Regions from separate parts of the Homo sapiens genome. Here region 1 is linked to region 2. Evidence: promoter capture Hi-C in human tissues and cell types (Jung and others, 2019). All regions are on one chromosome and are shown on one strand. The core of a region is centred on a gene start or on the middle of the fragment in contact, and the rest is flanking DNA. Distances in the headings are between cores, read along the strand shown. Region 1 has its middle 17 kb from the start of TINCR. Region 2 holds the start of ARRDC5 (arrestin domain containing 5).

Region 1 (5,267 bases), core at 2,516-5,015, 650 kb before region 2:
GCTGTGAGCCGAGATTGCACCACTGACCTCTCTGAGCCTTGGTTTTCTCATTTGGAAAAAGGCAAGTAAAAAAAAAAAAAAACAGCCGGGCGCGGTGGCTCACGCCTGTAATCCCAGCACTTTGGGAGGCCAAGGCAGGCGGATCATGAGGTCAGGAGATTGAGACCATTATGGCTAACACGGTGAAACCCATCTCTACTAAAAATACAAAAAAATTAGCCGGGCGTGGCAGCGGGCGCCTGTAGTCCCAGCTACTCCGGAGGCTGAGGCAGGAGAATGGCGTGAACCCGGGAGGCGGAGCTTGCAGTGAGCCGAGATCGCGCCGCTGTACTCCAGCCTGGGCGACAGAGCGAGACTCCGTCTCAAACAAAAAAAAAAAAAGAAAAGAAAAATCCTTATATGTTGAGATAAGTTTTTTGGGGAATCACCAAGAGCAAAGAAAGCAAAGTACACAGTAGGTTTCATGCGTGTCCATGTGAAGAGACCACCAAACAGGCTTTGTGTGAGCAGCATGGCTGTTTATTTCACCTGGGTGCAGGCCGGCTGAGTCCGAAAAGAGAGTCAGCGAAGGGAGATAGGGGTGGGGCCGTTTTATAGGATTTGGGAAGGTAATGGAAAATTACAGTCAAAGGGGGTTGTTCTCTGGTGGGCAGGGGTGGATCTCACAAAGTACATTCTCAAGAGTGGGGAGAATTACAAAGAACCTTCTTAAGGGTGGGGGAGACTACAAAGTACATTGATCAGTTAGGGTGGGGCAGGAACAAATCACAATGGTGGAATATCACCAGTTAAGGCTGTTTTTACTTCTTTTGTGGATCTGCAGTTACTTCAGGCCATCTGGATGTATACGTGCAAGTCACAGGGGATGCGATGACCTGGCCTGGGCTCAGAGGCCTGACATTCCTGCCTTCTTATATTAATAAGACAAATAAAACAAAATAGTGTTGAAGTGTTGCAGCGGCGAAAATTTTTGGGGGGTGGTATGGAGAGAGAACGGGCGATGTTTCTCAGGGCTGCTTCGAGCGGGATTAGGGGCGGCGTGGGAACCTAGAGTGGGAGAGATTAAGCTGAAGGGAGGTCTTGTGGTAAGGGGTGATATTGTGGGGATGTTAGAAGAAACATTTGTCGTATAGAATGATTGGTGATGGCCTGGATACGGTTTTCAATGAACTGAGAAGCTAAACGGAAGATAGAAGGTCTGAAGAAAAGGAGGAGAAAAATGGGTATTAAAGGACTAAGAATTGGGAGGGCCCAGGACATCCAATTAGAGAGTGCCCAAGGGGGTTCAGCGTAATTACTTTCTTGGTTGGCAAGTTTTTGGGCTCTATCCTTGAGTTTTTTTATGTTGTCATACACCAGGCCAGATTGATTTAGGTAAAAACAACACTCCTCATTTAAGAATATGCAGAGTCCTCCTTTTTCAGCAGTAAGTCAGTCAAGGCCTCGGTGGTTTTGGAGGACAACTGCAGCTAAAGAGTCAACTTGGGCCTGGAGGACTGATAAAGTTTGTGATTTTGAGGGCCTCTAAAAGTATTAAAGCAGCAGCAGCCGCTGCACGCAGACATGAGGGCTAGGTTAAAACAGTAAGGTCAAGTTGTTTGGACAGAAAGGCTACAGGGTGTGGTCCTGGCTCTTGTGTAAGAATTCCGACCACGCTAACCATGCCTAGGAAGGAAAGGAGTTGTTGTTTTGTAGGTGCTGGGGTTTGAGAGGTCAGTCGGACACGATTGGCAGGGAAAGCACGTGTGTTTTTGAGAATTATGCCGAGATAGGTAACAGATGAGGAAGAAATTTGTGCTTGATTGAAGTAATGGGGGCTGTCTGTGAAGCTTTGCAGCAGTACAGCCTTGGTAATTTGCTGAGCCTAATGGGTGTCAGGGTCAGTCTAAGTGAAAGCAAAGAGAGGCTGGGACGAGGGGTGCAGGGGAACAGTGAAAAAAGCATCTTTAAGATGGAGAACAGAATAGTGAGTTGTGGAGGAACGGATTGAGGACAAAAGAGGGTACGGGTTGGGCACCACAGGGTGGATGGCAAAACAATTTGGTTGATAAGACGCAGATCCTGAACTAATCTGTAAGACTTATCCGGTTTTCGGACAGGTAAAATGGGGGAATTGTAAGGAGAGTTTATAGGTTTTAGAAGCCCATGCTATAGCAGGCGAGTGATAACAGGCTTTAATCCTTTTAAAGCATGCTGTGGGATGGGATATTGGCGTTGAGCGGGGTAAGGGTGATTAGGTTTTAATGGGATGGTAATGGGCATGTGATCAGTTGCCAGGGAAGGAGTAGAGATGTCCCATACTTGTGGCTTAAGGTGGGGGGATACGAGAGGAAGACGTGAAGGAAGCTTTGGGCTGGGGAGAAGGGCGGCAATGAGATGCGGCTGTAGTCCAGGAATAGTCAGGGAAGCAGATAATTTGGTTAAAGTATCTCGGCCTAATAAGGGAACTGGGCAGGTGGGGATAACTAAAAAAGAGTGCATAAAAGAGTGTTGTCTAAGTTGGCACCAGAGTGGGGGAGTTTTCAGGGGTTTTGAAGCCTGGCCGTCAATACCCACAACAGTTATGGAGGCAAGGGAAACAGGCCCTTGAAAAGAAGATAATGTGGAGTGGGTAGCCTCCGTATTGATTAAGAAGGGGACGGACTTACCTTCCACTGTGAGAGTTACCCGAAGCTCGGCGTCCGTGATGGTCTACGGGGCTTCCGAGGCGATCGGGCAGCGTCAGTCTTCAGCCGCTAAGCCGAGAAGATCTGGGAAGGAGTCAGTCAGAGAGCCTTGGGCCAGAGTTCCAGGGGCTCTGGGAGTGGCTGCCAGGTGAGTTGAACAGTCCGATTTTCAGTGGGGTCCCACACAGATGGGACGCGGCTTAGGAGGAATCCCGGGCAGCGGGCATTCCTTGGCCCAGTGGCCAGATTTCCGGCACGTGTAGCAAGCTCCTGGGGGAGGAGGTTCTGGAGGAACGCCTGGCCGCTGCGGTTCAGGCATTTGGAAGTTCTTGTGTGCTGGAGATGTGGCTGGGGTTTGTCTCACAGTGGAGGCAAGGAATTGCAACTTTTTTCTATTATTGTACACCTTGAAGGCGAGGTTCATTAAGTCCTGTTGTGGGGTTTGAGGGCCGGAATTTAATTTTTGGAGTTTTATTTAATGTCGGGAGCAGATTGGGTAATAAAATATATTTTGAGAATAAGACGGCCTTTTGACTTTTTAGGGTCTAGGGCTGTAAAGTGTCTCAGGGTTACTGCCAAACAAGTCATGAACTGGGCTGGGTTTTTATATTTGATGAAAAAGAGCCTAAACGCTTCTGATTTGGGATAAAGAAAAAGGAGCATTAACCTCGACTATGCCTTTGGCTCCAGCCACCTTTTTAAGAGTAAATTGCTGGGCAGGAGGGGGAGGGCTAGTCACGGAACGAAACTGTAAGCCGGACCAGGTGTGAGGAGGGGAGGCGATAAAAAAATGACAGGATGCAGGAGCAGAGGCTGAGGAAGAATTGGGACTTAGCTTGGGCTGGCGAGGAGGGGAGAGGTCAGATGGGTCTGTAGAAAAGGAAGATGAGAAAGACTCAGCGACGCTTGGGGTTGGGACTGAGGGGACAGGTGGGAGGGAAAGAAGGAAGATTTGGGACGAGTTGCACTGGGCACAGAGAGTAGGAAGGGACTGATGGACTTCAGGCACCTCAGACCATTTGCCCATTTTACGACAAGAATTATTTAGATCTTGTAGGATGGAAAAATTGAAAGTGCCGTTTTCCGGCTATTTGGAACTACTGTCGAGCTTGTATTGGAGTCAAGCGGCATTGCAGAAGAAAATAAGGCATTTAGGTTTTAGGTCAGGTGTGAGTTGAAGAGGTTTTAAGTTTTTGAGAACACAGGCTAAAGGAGAAGGAGGAGGAATGGAAGGTGGAAGCTTACCCATAGTGAAGGAGGCAAGCCCAGAAAAAAGAGTAGAGACACGGAGAAGGGGTGGGGGGTTCTCGCCCTCCAGAAAAGCAGAGAAGGGGTTGGGGCACGGAAGTAAGGGATTGGGGCACAAAGAGGTCAGGGTGTGGAAATAAGGGATTGGGGTGCAGAGATATAAGAGGTTGGGGTGCGGAAATAAGCGATTGGGGGTTTCTTGCCCCCTAGGAAAGCGGGACTTGCCACTGAGGGTGAAGGAGAAGGGGTTGAGGGGTACTTGCCCCTGCCCCAGGAAAGCGGGACTTGCCACTAAGGGTGAAGGACCAAGGCGGGCGTCCCTGCGTGGTCTGACACCCTTGAAACGTGAGTGTATAATCAGAGAGGCGTCCCTGCAATGATTAAACACCAAGGGAAGGCTGCCTTCCCAGTCCGTGACCGGCGCCGGAGTTTTGGGTTCACGGATAAAACATGTCTCTTTTGTCTCTACCAGAAAATGAAAGGAATTGAAATTAAGAGAAGGGAGAGATTGAAATGTGGCGCCAAGATTGAAAGGAGAAAGAGGTTGAGGGATAGTGAGGGAGGTTGGAGAAGAGAGTAAAAAGAGGCCGCTTACCGGATTTGAAATTGGTGGGATGTTTCCTGGGCTGGTTGGACTGAGGACCTGAGGTGGTAGGTGGATCTTTCTCACGGAGCAAAGAGCAGGAGGACAGGGGATTGACCTCCCAAGGGAGGTCCCCCGATCCGAGTCACGGCACCAAATTTCATGCGCGTCTGTGTGAAGAGACCACCAAACAGGCTTTGTGTGAGAAGCATGGCTGTTTATTTCACCTGGGTGCAGGCCGGCTGAGTCCGAAAAGAGAGTCAGCGAAGGGAGATACGGGTGGGGCCGTTTTATAGGATTTGGGAAGGTAATGGAAAATTACAGTCAAAGGGGGTTGCTCTCTGGTGGGCAGGGGTGGATCTCACAAAGTACATTCTCAAGGGTGGGGAGAATTACAAAGAACCTTCTTAAGGGTGGGGGAGACTACAAAGTACATTGATCAGTTAGGGTGGGGCAGGAACAAATCACAATGGTGGAATGTCATCAGTTAAGGCTGTTTTTACTTCTTTTGTGGATCTTCAGTTACTTCAGGCCATCTGGATGTATACGTGCCAGTCACAGGGGATGCGATGGCCTGGCCTGGGCTCAGAGGCCTGACAGTAGGTATCTAATAAATGCTGTAGCTCACGCCTTTAATCCCAGTAATTTGGGAGGCCAAGGCAGGCATCACTGGAGCTCAGGAGTTCAAGACCAGCCCGGGCAACATAGTGAAACCCTGTCTCTATAAAAACTACAAAAATTAGCCTGGTATGGTGTTGCACACCTGTGGT
Region 2 (5,640 bases), core at 2,122-4,621:
TGGCTCACACCTGCAATCCCAGCACTTTGAGAGGCCGAGGAAGGCTGATCTCTTGCGCCCGGGAGTTTGAGACCAGCTTGGGCAACGTAGTGAGAACCCTTCTCTACAAAAAATAAAAATAAATTAGCCAGGCATGGTGGTGTGCACCTGTAGTCCCAGCTACTCAGGACACTGATGCAGGAGGACCTCTTGAGCCCAGAAGATCAAGGCAACAGTGAGCCATGCTTGCGCCACTGCACTCTAGCCTGGGTGACAGAAGGAGACTCTGTCTCAAAAAATAGTAATAATTGCTCAAGTTAATCATTTAAAAACATGAGTAACAAACTATTCCAGGCGTCTCAGAAAAAAAGCTCACAAGTCACTTAGAGCAGGGGTGTCCAATCTTTTGGCTTCCCTGGGCCACATTGGAAGAAGAATTGTCTTGGGCCACACATAAAATACACTAACACTGGCCGGGCACAGTGGCTCACGCCTGTAATCCCAGAACTTTGGGAGGCCAAGGCAGGCGGATCACTGAGGTCAGGAGATCAAGACTAGCCTGGCTAACACGGTGAAACCCCGTCTCTACTAAAAATACAAAAATTAGCCAGATGTGGTGGCACGTGCCTATAATCCCAGCTACTCGGGAGGCAGAGGCAGAAGAATTGCTTGAACCCAGGAGGCGGAGGTTACAGTGAGCCGAGATTGCACCACTGAACTCCAGCCTGGGCAACAAGAGCAAAACTCCATCTCAAAAATAAATAAATAAATAAATAAATAATAAAATACACTAACACTAACAATACCTGATGAGCTAAAAAAAAAATTGCAAAAAAATCTCATAATGTTTTAAGAAACTACAAATTTGTGGCCGGGTGTGGTGGCTCACACCTGTAATCCCAGCACTTTGGGAGGCTGAGGCAGGTGGATCACGAGGTCAGGAGATGGAGACCATCCTGGCTAACATGGTGAAACCCCATCTCTACTAAAAATACAAAAAAAAATTAGCCGGGCATGGTGGCACATGCCTGTAGTCCCAGCTACTCGGGAGGCTGAGGCAGGAGAATGGCGTGAACCTGGGAGGCAGAGCTTGCAGTGAGCCGAGATCACACCACTGCACTCCAGCCTGGGCGACTGAGCAAGACTCTGTCTCAAAAAAAAAAAAAAAAAAAAAAAAAAGAAAGTTTACGAATTTGTGTTGAGCCATATTCCATCCTGGGCCAAATGTGGCCCGTGGGTCAGGGGTTGGATGAGCTTGACTTAGGGAAATAAGAGGCCAATGCCCACAAAAGCTATCACATAAAATAATGCAAGATACAGCCAAGACAAGAAATAAGGCCTGCCAGGCTAGAGAATGGGTACTTCCTAGCCCCTCCTATGATTCAATGTCCCTCCCTCTCAGGCACCAGACCATGTGCAAATCAGGTGCCAGGAATAATTGTTAGAGTGCAAAGGGCTTCAGTTTCCCTTTTGCAAAATGATACATTCTCAGAGGTCATTAAGTCATTCAACAAACTTTTATTGATTCCACCCCCCACACCCACTCCTGGCTGAGCCAGATCCTGCCTGGGTCACGCAGACATTGATGGGCACAAAGTTCACTTAGACAAGGTCTCACCCTGGAGGGACTTCCCATCCAATGGGGGAGATGCAGGCATAAAGAGAAATGTCAGCCAGGCGTGGTAGCTCATGCCTGTAATCCCAGCACTTTGGGAGGCCAAGTGAGGCGGGTGGATCATGAGGTCAGGAGTTCAAGATCAGCCTGGCCAAGATGGTGAAACCCTGTCTCTACTAAAAATAACAAAAATTGGCTGGGTGCGGTGGCTCACGCCTGTAATCCCAGCACTTTGGGAGGCCAAGGTGGGCGGATCACGAGGTCAGGAGATTGAGACCATCCTGGCTAACATGATGAAACCCCGTCTCTACTAAAAATACAAAAAATTAGCCAGGCATTTGTGGCGGACGCCTGTAGTCCCAGCTACTCGGGAAGCTGAGGCAGGAGAATGGCATGAACACGGGAGGCGGAGCTTGCAGTGAGCCGAGATCGCACCACTGCACTCCAGCCTGGGTGACAAAGTGAGACTCCAATCTCAAAAAAAAAACAAAAACAAAAACAAAAAGAACAAAAATTAGCCGGGCACGGGGGCAGGTGCCTGTAACCCCCATGCCCGTAATCCCAGCTACTTGGGAGGCTGAGGCAGGAGAATCGCTTGAACCCAGGGGGCAGAGGTTGCAGTGAGCCGAGATCACGCCACTGCACTCCAGCCTGGGCAACAGAGTGAGATTCCACCTCAAAAAAAAAGAGAAATGTCAATCATGCAGGGAGTTGCTGCTTCCTGATGGTGTCGATGTTCAGATTAAGCACACACTGCCCTGATCAACTTCAGTGCGCACCAGATTTCAGGTCCTGGCCATATCTCTATGTTTTTTCCAATATAGACCAATATAAATGTAGAGTCTTTAAGATGAAAATGAGTGTGTATGCACCTGGGCACAGTGGCTCACAACTGTAATCCCAGCACTTTGGGAGGCCAAGGCAGGCGAATCATGTGAGGCCACAAGTTCGAGACCAGCCTGGCCAACATGGTGAAACCCCGTCTCTACTAAAAATACAAAAATTAGCTAGTTGCAGTGGCACTTGCCTGTAATCTCAGGTACTTGGGGGGCTGAGGTGGGAGAATCGCTGGAACCCAGGAGGCAGAGGTTGCAGTGAGCCGAGATCACACCATTGCACTCCAGTCTGGCTGACAGAGTGAGACCATCACAAAAAATAAAAATAAAATAAATAAAAATACCAAAAAAAAATTAGCAAAGCATGGTGATGGTGCATGCCTGTAATTCCAGCTACTCAGGAGGCTGAAGCAGGAGAATTGCTTGAACCCGGGAGGCAGATGTGGCAGTGAGCCGAGATCGCGCCACTACACTCCAGCCTGGGTGACAGAATGAGACTTTGTCTCAAAAAAAGAAAAAGCCCAGGTGCAGTGGCTCACGCCTGCAATCCCAGCACTTTGGGAGGCTGAGGTGGGTGGATCACGAGGTCAGGAGATCGAGACCATCCTGGCCAACACAGTGAAACTCTGTCTCTACCAAAAAATTAGCTGGGCATGCTGGCATGCACCCGTGGTCCCAGCTACTCAGGAGGCTGAGGCAGGAGAATTGCTTGAACCCATGAGGCGGAGGTTGCAGTGAGCCAAGATGGCACCCCTGCACTCCAGCCTGGGCTACAGGGTAAGACTCCATCTCAAAAAAAAAAAAAAAGAACCAGTGAGGACTACAGGTTTCCCAATCAACCACCCACCCTAAACAACAGTTTTGCCTCCCCTCCTGGCCACTGGGGTCCCCACTTCCCGGAACTCTGAGCTGAGTGATGTCATAGATGGATTACCTCACTAGGGCCAACGAACCGGGAATTTCAGGGACATGGGGGACAGAGAGGAATGTCTCTCTACCCCCCAACCCCCCATGTCTGTGGTGAAGTCGATCGAATTAGTGCTGCCCGAGGATAGAATCTACCTGGCTGGCTCCAGCATAAAAGGGCAGGTGATCTTAACCCTGAACAGCACCCTGGTGGACCCCATAGTGAAGGTGGAGCTCGTGGGAAGGGGTTACGTCGAATGGAGTGAAGAAGCCGGGGCATCCTGTGATTATAGCAGAAATGTTATTTGCAACAACAAGGCAGACTACGTGCATAAGACAAAGACATTCCCAGTGGAGGGTAAGGACGAGGCCAACAGCCACCCCTAGCCATGACAGGAACCTGGGTCTGGAAAATAAACACATCCGAGAGTCAATCAACAAAACTCTAGGGCTATCAGAAATAGGGAGTGGCCTGATTTCTCCCTAGGAGGGAGGCCATGAAGAACAATGACCATCAGATACACAAAACGCAAAAATAACAAGACATAAGGAGCTGATCGGAACCCCGATATTCAAAATGAAGGTTCAAAGTAGTCTCCTTGGAAAATGCTCAATCCAACAACTGCCTTTGAGAGGCCTCTGAGAAGTCTTATTCTTTTACAGATAAGTTTCACTCTGACAGCAAAACCCCAGGAGACAAAGTAGGCAGTCCTGCATTCATGGGGAGAGACAGTGGAGGTGGGCCAGGCACAGTGGTTCATACCTGTAATTCCAGCACTTTGAGAGGCCGAGGCAGGTGGATCACTTGAGGTCAGGAGTTTGAGACCAGCCTGGCCAATATAGCGAAACCCCATCTCTACCAAAAAATACCAAAAAATTAGCTGGGCGTGCTGGCACGTGCCTGTAATCTCAGCTACTTGGGAGGCTGAAGCAAGAGAATCACTTGAACTCGTGAAGGGGAGGTTCCAGTAAGCTGAGATCGCACCACAGCACGCCAGCCTGGGTGACGGAGCGAGATTCCCTCTCAAAAAAAGAAAGATAGTGGAGGTAGAAGAGCAAGGGAGACCTTCCAGAGAAGGAATAACTAGTCCCCAGTTCCACCAGGTCAGATCTGAAATCTGAACAAATGTCAGAGAGTCTGCTGAGTTGTCGGGGAAATTATATGTCCATTGCAAAATGTGTTTGTGGGGATATTCCCAGGTATTAAGCAGTCAAGCAGAACACGTGGCCAACACTTGGCTGAACAAAGTGTAATTTAATTTAATTTATTTCTGTATTTATTTATTTGTATCTTATTTATTTATTTATCTATTTTTTGAGACACAGTCTCGCCCTGCTTCCCAGGCTGGAGTGAAGTGGCACCATCTCGGCTCGCTGCAAGCTCCGCCTCCCGGGTTCAAACGATTCTCCTGCCTCAGCCTCCTGAGTGGCTGGGATTACAGGCACCCGCCACCATGCCCAGCAATTTTTGGTATTTTTAGTAGAGGCAGGGTTTCACCACGTTGGCCAGGCTGGTCTCGAACTCCTGACCTCGTGATTCGCCCACCTCGGCCTCCCAAAGTACTGGGATTACAGGCATGAGCCACCAGGCCTGGCTTATGTATTTATTTTTGAGACAGGGCCTCGCTCTGTTGCCCAGGCTAGAGGCCAGTGGTGTGATCAAAACTCACTGCAGCCCCAGCCTCTCTGGCATAAGCGATCCTCTCACCTCAGCCTCCTGAGTAGCTGAGACCACAGGCACATGGCACCATGCTTGGCTAATTTTTGTTTATTTTTTGTTTTCGTTTTTTTGAGACGGAGTTTTGCTCTTGCTGCCCAGGCTGGAGTGCAATGGCGCAATCTCGGCTCACCGCAACCTCCTGGGTTCAAACGACTGTCTCTTAAAAAAAGAACTAGCAATTTTTTTTTTTTTTGAGACTGAATCTCACTCGTTGCCCAGGCTGGAGTGCAGTGGCGTAATCTTGGCTCACTGCAACCTCCACCTCCTGGGTTCAACCGATTGTCCCGCCTCAGCCTCCCGAGTAGCTGGCACTACAGGCGTGTGCCACCACTCCCAGCTAATTTTGTATTTTTAGTAGAGACGGAGTTTCTCCATGTTGGTCAGGCTGGTCTTGAACTCCCGACCTCAGGTGATCCGCCCACCTTGGCCTCCCAAAGTGCTGGGATTACAGGCATGAGCCACCACACCTGGCCATTTTAGACTTTAAAAATTTAGATGAGATGGTCTGTTCCACCAGAGGAGTACTCTGCAAAGAGGGAACAACCAAGCACAGAACTGAGTGATAGGAGGGACTCCAGCCATGC

The links. Contacts are between HindIII fragments. The study calls those that stand out against the background at their distance.
Region 1: a contact is called between a fragment that was not itself captured here and the fragment with the promoter of ARRDC5 in region 2, in 1 of the 25 tissues and cell types used here (dorsolateral prefrontal cortex).

The regions. Positions count from the first base shown.
Region 1 is chr19:5,548,405-5,553,671 of GRCh38, reverse strand. No RefSeq gene overlaps it. Among named protein-coding and RNA genes, the nearest start is that of TINCR, 17 kb to the left of the region's middle. The HindIII fragment of the contact is 3,354 bases long and covers 2,089-5,267 here.
Region 2 is chr19:4,900,627-4,906,266 of GRCh38, reverse strand. ARRDC5 (arrestin domain containing 5) reads left to right here and starts at 3,371. Exons shown (of 3, transcript NM_001080523.3): 1 at 3,371-3,694. The coding sequence starts at 3,442. It also overlaps a transcript of UHRF1 not described here. The HindIII fragment of the contact is 23,961 bases long and covers 1-5,640 here.